Regions from separate parts of the Homo sapiens genome. Here region 2 is linked to region 1. The links are contacts of gene promoters, found by promoter capture Hi-C in human tissues and cell types (Jung and others, 2019). All regions are on one chromosome and are shown on one strand. The core of a region is centred on a gene start or on the middle of the fragment in contact, and the rest is flanking DNA. Distances in the headings are between cores, read along the strand shown.

What was found. Contacts are between HindIII fragments. The study calls those that stand out against the background at their distance.
Region 2: a fragment that was not itself captured here is called in contact with the fragment with the promoter of UGDH in region 1 in 1 of the 25 tissues and cell types used here (heart right ventricle).

What each region holds. Positions count from the first base shown.
Region 1 is chr4:39,524,904-39,529,632 of GRCh38, forward strand. UGDH (UDP-glucose 6-dehydrogenase) reads right to left here and starts at 2,536. Exons shown (of 12, transcript NM_003359.4): 1 at 2,380-2,536. UGDH-AS1 (UGDH antisense RNA 1) reads left to right here and starts at 2,936. Exons shown (of 5, transcript NR_047679.1): 1 at 2,936-3,435. RefSeq lists silencers at 2,251-2,430, 2,681-2,980 and an enhancer at 3,361-3,420. The HindIII fragment of the contact is 14,033 bases long and covers 1-4,729 here.
Region 2 is chr4:38,202,736-38,207,464 of GRCh38, forward strand. No RefSeq gene overlaps it. Among named protein-coding and RNA genes, the nearest start is that of LINC02513, 160 kb to the right of the region's middle. The HindIII fragment of the contact is 3,341 bases long and covers 255-3,595 here.

The DNA of each region.
Region 1 (4,729 bases), core at 1,286-3,785:
TACATACATCAGCTGGGATAGACTACTGATGGCAGGTGAACTTGTATCACAGAACTGGATGTGTTTTACACAAGCTTTATTTTGGGTATTCTCGCCTTGCTATTTCCCATGAAATACGGCTTACCGATGACAATGGGAGAATCAATGAAAAGGCTGATGTACAATCTGTGCAAGTCCAAATAAATGCTCACTTGGAAGTTTCAATAAAATCTTCAATAAGCTTTAACATGGAGTTTGACATAGTGTTAGTGACACACTTTGCATGACACAGATGTCTGCCAACTCCATTTTCTATTTCTTTTTTCTTTTTGAGACGGAGTCTCACTGTCACCGAGGCTGGAGTGCAGTGGCACCATGTCGGCTCACTGCAACCTCCGTCTCCTGGGTTCAAGCAATTCTCCTGCCTCAGCCTCCCGAGTAGCTGGGATTACAGGTGCCCACCACCACGCCCAGCTAGTTTTTATATATTTAGTAGAGACGGGGTTTCACCATATTGGTCAGGCTGGTCTCGAACTCCTGACCTCAGGTGATCCATCCACCTTGGCCTCCCAAAGTGCTGGGATTACAGGCGTGAGCCACTGCGCCCAGCCCCATTTTCTTTTCTTTTTCTTTTTTTTTTTTGAGACGTAGTCTCGCTCAGTTGCCCAGGTTGGAGTGCAGTGGCGCAATCTCGGCTCACTGAAAGCTCTGCCTCCCAGGTTCATGCCATTCTCCTGCCTCAGCCTCCCGAGTAGCTGGGACTACAGGCGCCCGCCACTACGCCCGGCTAATTTTTTTTTGTATTTTTAGTAGAGACGGGATTTCACCATGTTAGCCAGGATGGTCTCGATCTCCTGACCTCGTGATCCGCCCGTCTCGGCCTCCCAAAGTGCTGGGATTACAGGCGTGAGCCACCACGCCCGGCCCCCATTTTCTATTTCTACTTTTATGTACCCTCTGGCCCTCTATTCTGCTGTCAGAGACATAGGAGTGTTTCCTTATTAAATGGGTTATTTTGAAATGAGTTTTTACCTCTGTATTTTGGGAGAGTCACAACAAACCAAACCGTTCCAAAACTACTCTTCATGTAAAATTTCATAAATTCAAATAAACATTCCAACCCAGAAGGGGTCACTAACAAATAACAAATGCCCTACTACAATCTAAACGGAATATAATCCTTCTAGCCCCAGCTCTCTACAGCATATTTTGCATAGGTACCCAGGAGCTAACGATGGGCATTATAGTTGGATACATCAGCTTCACACATTTTAATCATTTCCAGAAATTAAACAGTAAAAGATGCCTGACCAGAGAAAAATATTTAATCAGTAAGAAAGCCGGTATTAATTTTATGTCTAAGGGTTATCATGTAAAGCTGTGGAAGTAAACAAGAAGGAAGATGGATTATGCTTATCCAGTTATAGATTTTGTTAGAAAAAGGAGTACAGCAACGGGAGAAGAAATGAGATCTTTTCAATCAGGGTTGTCTACCCCTTACCTTAAACTGGATCCTGGCCACTAATAAGCACATCTCAGAGCAGACAGTCAGCTCTTTCATTTCCAGAACCCCCCTGAAGAAAGACTACTGTTCTCCATTTCTTAAGGGATTTGAAGAAACTCAAAGGCTCACTGTGTCTTTGAGGTCTGTCGATAGACAGCTACTGCTCTGTATGCCCATGAATAGATCCCTACCAGCGAACCCCTCTTTTCTCTATACTAGAATTCCTAACCCTACTAAGTTATCTTCCTATATATTTATAGGACGTATAATTTTTCAAGATCTCACACAAACATGGTCTCCCGAGGCACCCAGGAAAGGCCTTCCCCGACATCAAACAGAGCAATTCTGTGGTGTAGGGGGCCAACAATGGATTCCAGGACATCCCGGACAGATATCACGGCAGTCTTAGTATTTTGCTCTCAAGAGGGCTTTCTGGCTTCGTTTCTCTTTGGTTTCTTAAGAGGGGCGGCATGAGAAAAGCAGGAGCCCCTCAGGTGAGCAGACTCTTAAACACAAACAAAAGACTACGACTCTGCGGCCAAAATGAGGTCCCCAACGAGAGAACCGCTTCCTGTGGTGGGCGTTCGGCTTTGGAGGCGGCAGGGAAATCTCATCCAAGTCAGGAAAGTGGGTAAAGGCAGAAAGAGAAGGGGCTGGAAGACTCACGAGTCTTGAATAAGAAGCCCAGACGACCACATCCCCAGGACAGCAGTTCCAAAATGCGGTTCCCGCCCTAAGCCCCAAAGAGACGAAGGTCGTGAGACGGGAAGCCCGGGACCCAGCGCAGCGAGCGACCGGGAGCAGCGCGCACACCCCAGCCCCGCTCCCTCCACATCCCGCCCAGACCTGGGAGCATCCCGCCCGGGCGGCGGGGCCAGCCTGGGAGCGGCGCTTACCCACTTCCCAGCAGCAAGCGCAGGGACCGCTCCTATCCCGATCGTTCGGACAGCACCTTCCTACGGGCCGCGCCGCCGCAGCTTCTCCACCCGCGCCCCGCTCGATCTGAGCTCCCTCTCGGCGCACGCCCCTCCCTCAGGCTGCCACGCGTTACACTCTGAGTCCCGGGCCTGAGCCCGTATTTAAAGGCTTTTGCCTGCGAAGGCGGAGGCTTCATTCCCCCGCAGCCAGGCCCTCCTGGATTCTGCCCTCAGCTGCTTCCTAGCTCCCCCTCCCGCTACACAAGGCCCAGGGCCAGGTCCCTATTTCCTTCACGGCTCAGGGGCGGGGAGACTGGGGCTGGTCCTGGCTGGGAGGGCCTGCCCCGCCCCTGGCCTAGCTGGGCAAATCCGCTTTGGCCAGCTCAGCGGCTCCGCCCCTACCGCGAGCGGCGCTGGGCGGGGCTGCGTGCGTGGCGTGTCCGCTGGACCAGGGGACGGGGGCGCGCCGCAGGTGTAGGAGCTTTGCGCGCCTACCTGGCGGTCGTGGGTCGAGGAGGGGTCAAGAATTGTTGTCTAGCAGCCCTCTCCCCGCTGCCCTGTCCTGGCCGAGGCAAAGGCCGCGTGCGCTCCGCGTCTGCCAGGCTTTAGGGCTGCGCGGACACTGGGTGGGTGGTGGGCCGAGGCGACCGGAAGGTCCTGGCCGCCTTTCCGGTCTCCTCAGCACCCTGGAGCGCCGCCCTCGGGTTTCGGTCTCCTGGATCTGCGGGTCGGTCTCGGCGGGCGGATTACTCCTCGCCCACAACCTCGAGGCCCCGGGGTCAACCGCGCCCTCCGGGCCGGCAACCCAGGGTTTAGTCAGATTCCTCCTGACCCACCGCTTCTGGGAAAGAGGCGCCTCCCGTCAGGAGGATGCTGAGTTCCTCATGACTGGACCAGTGAGTGTCCACTCCCTGGTCCCTGGCGAGAGAGGCGGGACCCCCACGCCCTCCTGGCGCTCTTTGCAGAGATGTTCCTCAGGCCCAATCCGGGATTTGGGATGTCTGTGCGTGCTGTGGAGCAGAGAGTTTGCAACATGTAAGTGCCGTGCGTGAGGAAGAGTAAAATTAACCTATGGAGCCTGCTCATTTTTAATGTGGAGGGCAGTTCCGTTCCTTTCTTTCGCCGCTTCGAGGTCATTTTAACACTCAAATCTAACATATAAGAAAAAAAGCCAGGCATAATCATGGCCTTTTATTTCCCTCATTAAGGATTACATCAGGTGACATAAGCCATTTTAACATACATCATGAAGAAAGTGATTAGTAATTTATAAAGGCACATTAAAATACCATATAAATTACGGTTTTCTTGATAGGATCATGATGGTGACTTTAAGAAAGTGGTTGAATGTGGATGAAACAGTTTGCTGTGGATTGTAGCACGTGTGGCAGGATATGTAGGCTTGTTGGTTGGTTGTTTTGAGACGGAGTCTCCCTCTTGTCGCCGAGGCTGGAGTGCAGTGGTGCGATCTCGGCTCACCTCAACCTCCTCCTTCCAGATTCAAACGATTCTCCTGCCTCAGCCTCCCGAGTAGCTGGGATTACAGGCGCCCACAACCATGCCCGGCTAATTTTTATATTTTTAATAGAGACCGGGTTTTGCTATGTTGACCAGGCTGGTCTCAAACTCCTGACCTCAGGTGATCCGCCCGTCTCGGCCTCCCAAAGTGCTGGGATTACAGGTGTGAGCCACTGTGCCTGGCCAGTATATGTAGGCTTTCTGCATTCTATGCAGTTCAGTTCATTCATCCAACAAATATTTAATGCCTGTTGTGTGTCAGACGTTATCCTAAAGACTGAAGATGCAAAAGGGATTAAGACTCAATTCCTTTGGCCAGGCACGGTGGTTTACGCCTGTAATCCCAGCACTTTGGGAGGCCATAGCGGGCGGATCACCTGAGGTCAGGAGTTCCAGACCAGCCTGGCCAACATGGTGAAACCCCGGCTCCACTAAAAATACAAAAAGTTAGCCGGGTGAGGCGGTGGGCACCTGTAATCCCAGCTGCTCAGGAGGCTCCCTGTTGCAGTGAGCCGAGATCACACCACTGCCCTGCAGCCTGGGGAACAGAACGAGACACTGTCTCAGAAAAATAACCAAACAAAAAAGACTCATTTCCTTCTTGCAAAGCTCACAGGTTGGGTAGAAGAGATATGTAAACAAGTAATTGCACTAGATATGACAAGTACATCTTTTTGAACATACATAGATTTAAGTTATCTAATACAGTTTGCTTTGTAATAAAAACCACTTATCTTAGTCCCTTCATTTTGAATTCAACATTTTTCTATTTAGTATTCACCTCACATTCTTTTTTAGTATTTTGGTAGAA
Region 2 (4,729 bases), core at 675-3,174, 1.3 Mb before region 1:
GGTGACTTCACTTGCCTTATTAACCACCAGATTCTTGGGACCTAGAACAGTGCCTGGTGTGTGCCAGGTGCCACATAAATGTGAATGAATGAACAGAAAAGTCTGAGACAAAGCCAAATGCCTCAACCCCTATGAACTCTATTCACTCTGTCTGTTCTGTAAAGATCTGGAGATGAGGCTCTCCAAATTGCACAAAGGATAATAAGCTTATCAAGAAAAGGAAAGAGCAGCTCATTTTTCTTGGGAGCCTTTGCTCCCAAGCCCATGGGTTCCAAAACCCATGCTCTTACCCTTAAATTGAAGCTTGGTGGAAACTGGAGTAAAAGGGAAATGAGCCCATTAAGCTTTAAATAAACTTAAATCTCTAAGCAGTGGACAAGGTAAGTATAAATTCTTATCACAAGGATGCCACTTAAAACCCTTCCAAAAATCTGTGGTGTGCAGCAATAAACACTTATTTCTTGTTCATATGTTTGTGGGCTGACTGGGGTTTGGCTGATCTTGGCTGAGCTCTGCCGGGCATGGCTCTAGGCTGTGGATTGGGTCGAGGTCTGCTCTAGGAGTCTTTTATTATTCTGGTACCAGTGGGCGTTCCGGGGCATGTTCTTCTCTTGGCAATGCCAGAAGCACATATGAGATGAATGGAAATACACAATACATAAGGCCTGTGTGTATTATGGGCACATTGTTTCTTCTGCCCACATTTCATTGGCTGAATCAAGTCACAAGCCACTCAAGCCCAAAACCAGTGGGATGGGCTGTACACTCCATCTCTAGCAAGGTCCCATGAGAACTGCAAAGTCCCATGGCAAAGGGTGTTGATCCTGGCAGCAGTGAACAATTGGGAATAATGATGCACTTGACCATAGGAATATATGTGGAGCATGCATGGTATTCAGGGACTAGGCCTTATGCTGTACATGCACCATCTCATTGAAGCCTCACAGCAATCCTATGAAGTAGATTATTATTATTCCTATTATTCAATGAGAGAGTTTAGGCTCAAAGCAGTTCATGACTCAAGGTCCCACTGAAATAAATGGACTATCAGGGGCATGTGCCCAGGTCTGCCTGGCAGGAACGCTCATGTTCTTAACCCTGACTCAACTCTGCTGAAAGAACTGGCTGTGATGAAAGAAAAGCTGCCAGTAATTTTTCAAAAGCTGTAGGTGATAGGGAAGGCATCGGAAGACCAGATACACGCAAATGGATGCATTTTTCAAGGGGTGGGAGAAAGTGAACTTCTGAAATGAGATAAGCTTGAGTTTTGTGTGTCAAGGATGGTTGCTTTATCAAGAAAAACAAAAAAACAAAAAACAAAACAAAACAAAACAAAAACCAAACTCTAGAGAAAAAGCCACCATCTCTGTGGCTGGGCTAATGAATCAGGCTGGACACTAGAACTGTAGTAGACTAGTGGAATTCATCTGAACTTCATGTTAATCCCTCAGCTTGGATGGATATATTCAGCTACTCCATCTACTCCCAGTCTTGGTTCCATATCCTTGTGGTGGTGCTATTCTTTAATGCCTTAATTCTCAACTTGCCTATAGCTTAATCCTACTGCCTTAATTCTCAACTTGCCTATACCCTGGGCCTTTGATTTGAGTCCCCTCACTGATAGCTTGGGGTCTCCCTAAATGAATGTCTGTAGATTTCTGCTGCTCACCCATACTGTCCTGTATATGATTCTCAGACAAAGCCTGGCACCTGACTCCCTGCTCTCCTCACCAAGCTGGCACGCCATCAGGACTCCTGTGTCCTCTCACCCTGAGGAGGGATACTCCCCCAGGAACATTCTAGAACACATTTAGAACAAGTGACTCATGGGCAGTGCTAACGGTAATCTGGAGGGTAGCATGAGCTCAGTGAGGGCGAACATGGCTCCGCAAACCTGATTTCCGTTGTTAGAAAATTGGACTGCCAGATCAAGGGGCGGTCATGAGGTTAGAATTTCAGATTTCATCAAGGGATTTGACAGACCCTTTCATGATCTCTTTTCGAAGAAGACTGAGAAACATTGGCTGATTTAGGACAAATAGATTAGTGCTGGCTGGTTAAAAAATTATGCTGTCATTAATCAGATGTGCTGATTAATGACAGCCAGAGGGAGGCAGCTGGTGTTGAACAATAGACCTTTGTCCTCAGCCAGGTCCTGTCCGGGGTTCTCACTCTCGCTCTCTCTATAGCCACCCCATCTCTCTTTGAACAACTTGGATGAAGACACAAGAGGCTGCTTTATAAAACTGATGGCAGGCATAAACAAAGGAGGAGTAGCTAGTATAAAAATGAGAAGGTCAAGATTAAAATAATAATAATATCTATAACACCTTACAAAGCCTTTCTCTAGAGAATGATGTTATCTAAGTCTCTAAACAACTCTGTGTAGTTAGGGTGACCAATGAGCCTCATTTCAGATTGGATTCAGGGCTTAAGTCAATTCCCAGAATCACGCAACGTTGTACTGCAGAACCCAGGTTTAAACACTTATTTTTCTGATTCCAAATTTTATACCCTTTAAAATTGGCCAAAATAAACAAGAGGAAATTAATGGAAACATTTTTTAAAATACACAAGCACAGGTTGGGAGAACCTAACGTACCAACCGCCATGGGAATGACCCTCAGCATCTCTCCCTCGTTCCCTAGCTCTGAGACAGCTGCCCACTGCTTCACTGTGACAGAGCTGGCATTCTCCTCCCCAACCTGGCCTCTTCCAGGCAATTGGTAAGCCCATCCAGCTGGAGCAGAAGAACAGAAATGTGGACTTGGCCCCCTAGTCTCATAAAGCTACAACTGCTGGTCTGATTCAGGGGCCCCTGTGGCATGGTGGAAAAGACATGAGCTTACAAGTCCTGTGAATTAATTTACTTTTAAAAGTAAATTAAATTTACTTGCCTTGGGCAAGTAAACTAAACCTGGCCAAGCCTCAGTTTCTTTTTTGTAAAAGGGGAGACTAATGATACAAATCTTAGTGGACAGTGGTGAGGACTGCAAGAGATGATGCATGTAAAAATCTTGGCACAGGGCCTGGCAGATAGAAAATCTCAATAACTTGCAGTTCACCTTCAGAGTTGGGAATTCATAAGTCGCAGCATGGATTGAACCAGGATTGTCGTACCCTCTGCACCATCATGGTACTCTTGCCCTTTCTGGATCTAAGTCCTGGCTTCAGTGATCCAAACGTGGGTAGATTTTAATTCTTCTGATAGGAGGCCCTCCCTATTCAAGAGATAAGAGAATGCCTAACACATGGCCAGCCATGCTTGTTCTGCTGTGCCTTTTAATTGTGCAGAAAATAATAATGATAATAGAACCTTCTAGTATTTCAGAAGGTTGGAACATCATGAGAACTTACCATTTAGATTCCCCAGTCAGGTAGACGAATGGATTGAGCAACTCATCTGTTTTCCTTCACTTCTTGGAGGTTTGGTAGAGGGAACAGGAAGCATGGAGGAAGGTGCAGAATTTGTGGGGAGCAAGTACCTTTGTGAATCTCTTTCTCACTGTTGCATTTTGTTTTCTTTCTGAGTTTCTCTATCTTCTGGGTGATACAAGGAAGGTACTGCTTGCCTAGAATTTAATACTCTTTTCTGTTTGTTTTAATCCCTACCAGGACCAGGTGTTCTTTTGGTTTTTGAAGTTCTCATCAATAGGAGTTTACTTATTTGGCACCATAAAACCCTGCTTTAAACAGGATACACAATTTTATGCATCATAAAAATAAAAACAAATTAAGTATTTTTGAAAGCAGTGTGTTTTAAATTATATCCAAATAACAAACACTCACCTAGGGCAAAAGATGAACTCTTCTGGAGCAATAGATTGTAGAGCTGATTGATTTATTTTGTGCAAGAGTAGATAATAATTTACCCAATGCTTGCTATGGTAGGGATTTTCCCCACAATAGTGTGGTGAGGTCAGCAAAGCATGATGGTCAGAACCAATGTATCTTCATCCTATCTGCAGGTCAGGTCCTGACAGTGGATTCTGTAAACTCCCACTCTCTTAAATTCACATTAATGGGCGTTAAAACTTGATGTTGGTCGCCAGGCACAGTGGCTCACACCTGTAATCCCAGCCCTTTGGGAGGCTGAGGCGGGCGGATCACGAGGTCAGGAGATCGTGACCATCCTGGCTAACACGGTGAAACCCCGTCACTACTAAAAATACAAAAAAGTAGCCGGGCGTGGTGGCGGGCGCGGTGGTGGGTGCCTGTAGTCCCAGCTACTTGGGAGGCTGAGGCAGGAGAATGGCGTGAACCCGGGAGGCGGAGCTTGCAGTGAGCCGAGACTGCGCCACTGCACTCCAGCCTGGGCGACAGAGCGAGACTCTGTCTCAAGAAACAAACAAACAAACAAACAAAACAAAACAAAACAAAACAAAACAAAAAAAACCTTGATGTTGGTCATGTGGCCTAGCACAGAAAACAACTTTCTGTCAATCACTTCTCCTCCTCTTTTATTGATTATCGTCAATTGCATAACCGTAGCACTCCTCACATATTTCAGCATTCACTGTTTGTTTTTCAAAACTGTTCCTACAGTCAACAAACCCTTTCATACATGCAAGCCAGTTTCATCCATTTCTTACATCTAATTAATCTCTTTGGGCTTCACCATAATGGCACATTTCTTCTTCTTCTTTTTCTTTTTTCTTCTTTTAACAGCTTTATTGAGGTGTAATTTACATGACATAAAATTCACCCATTTTAAGTCTGTAATTCAATT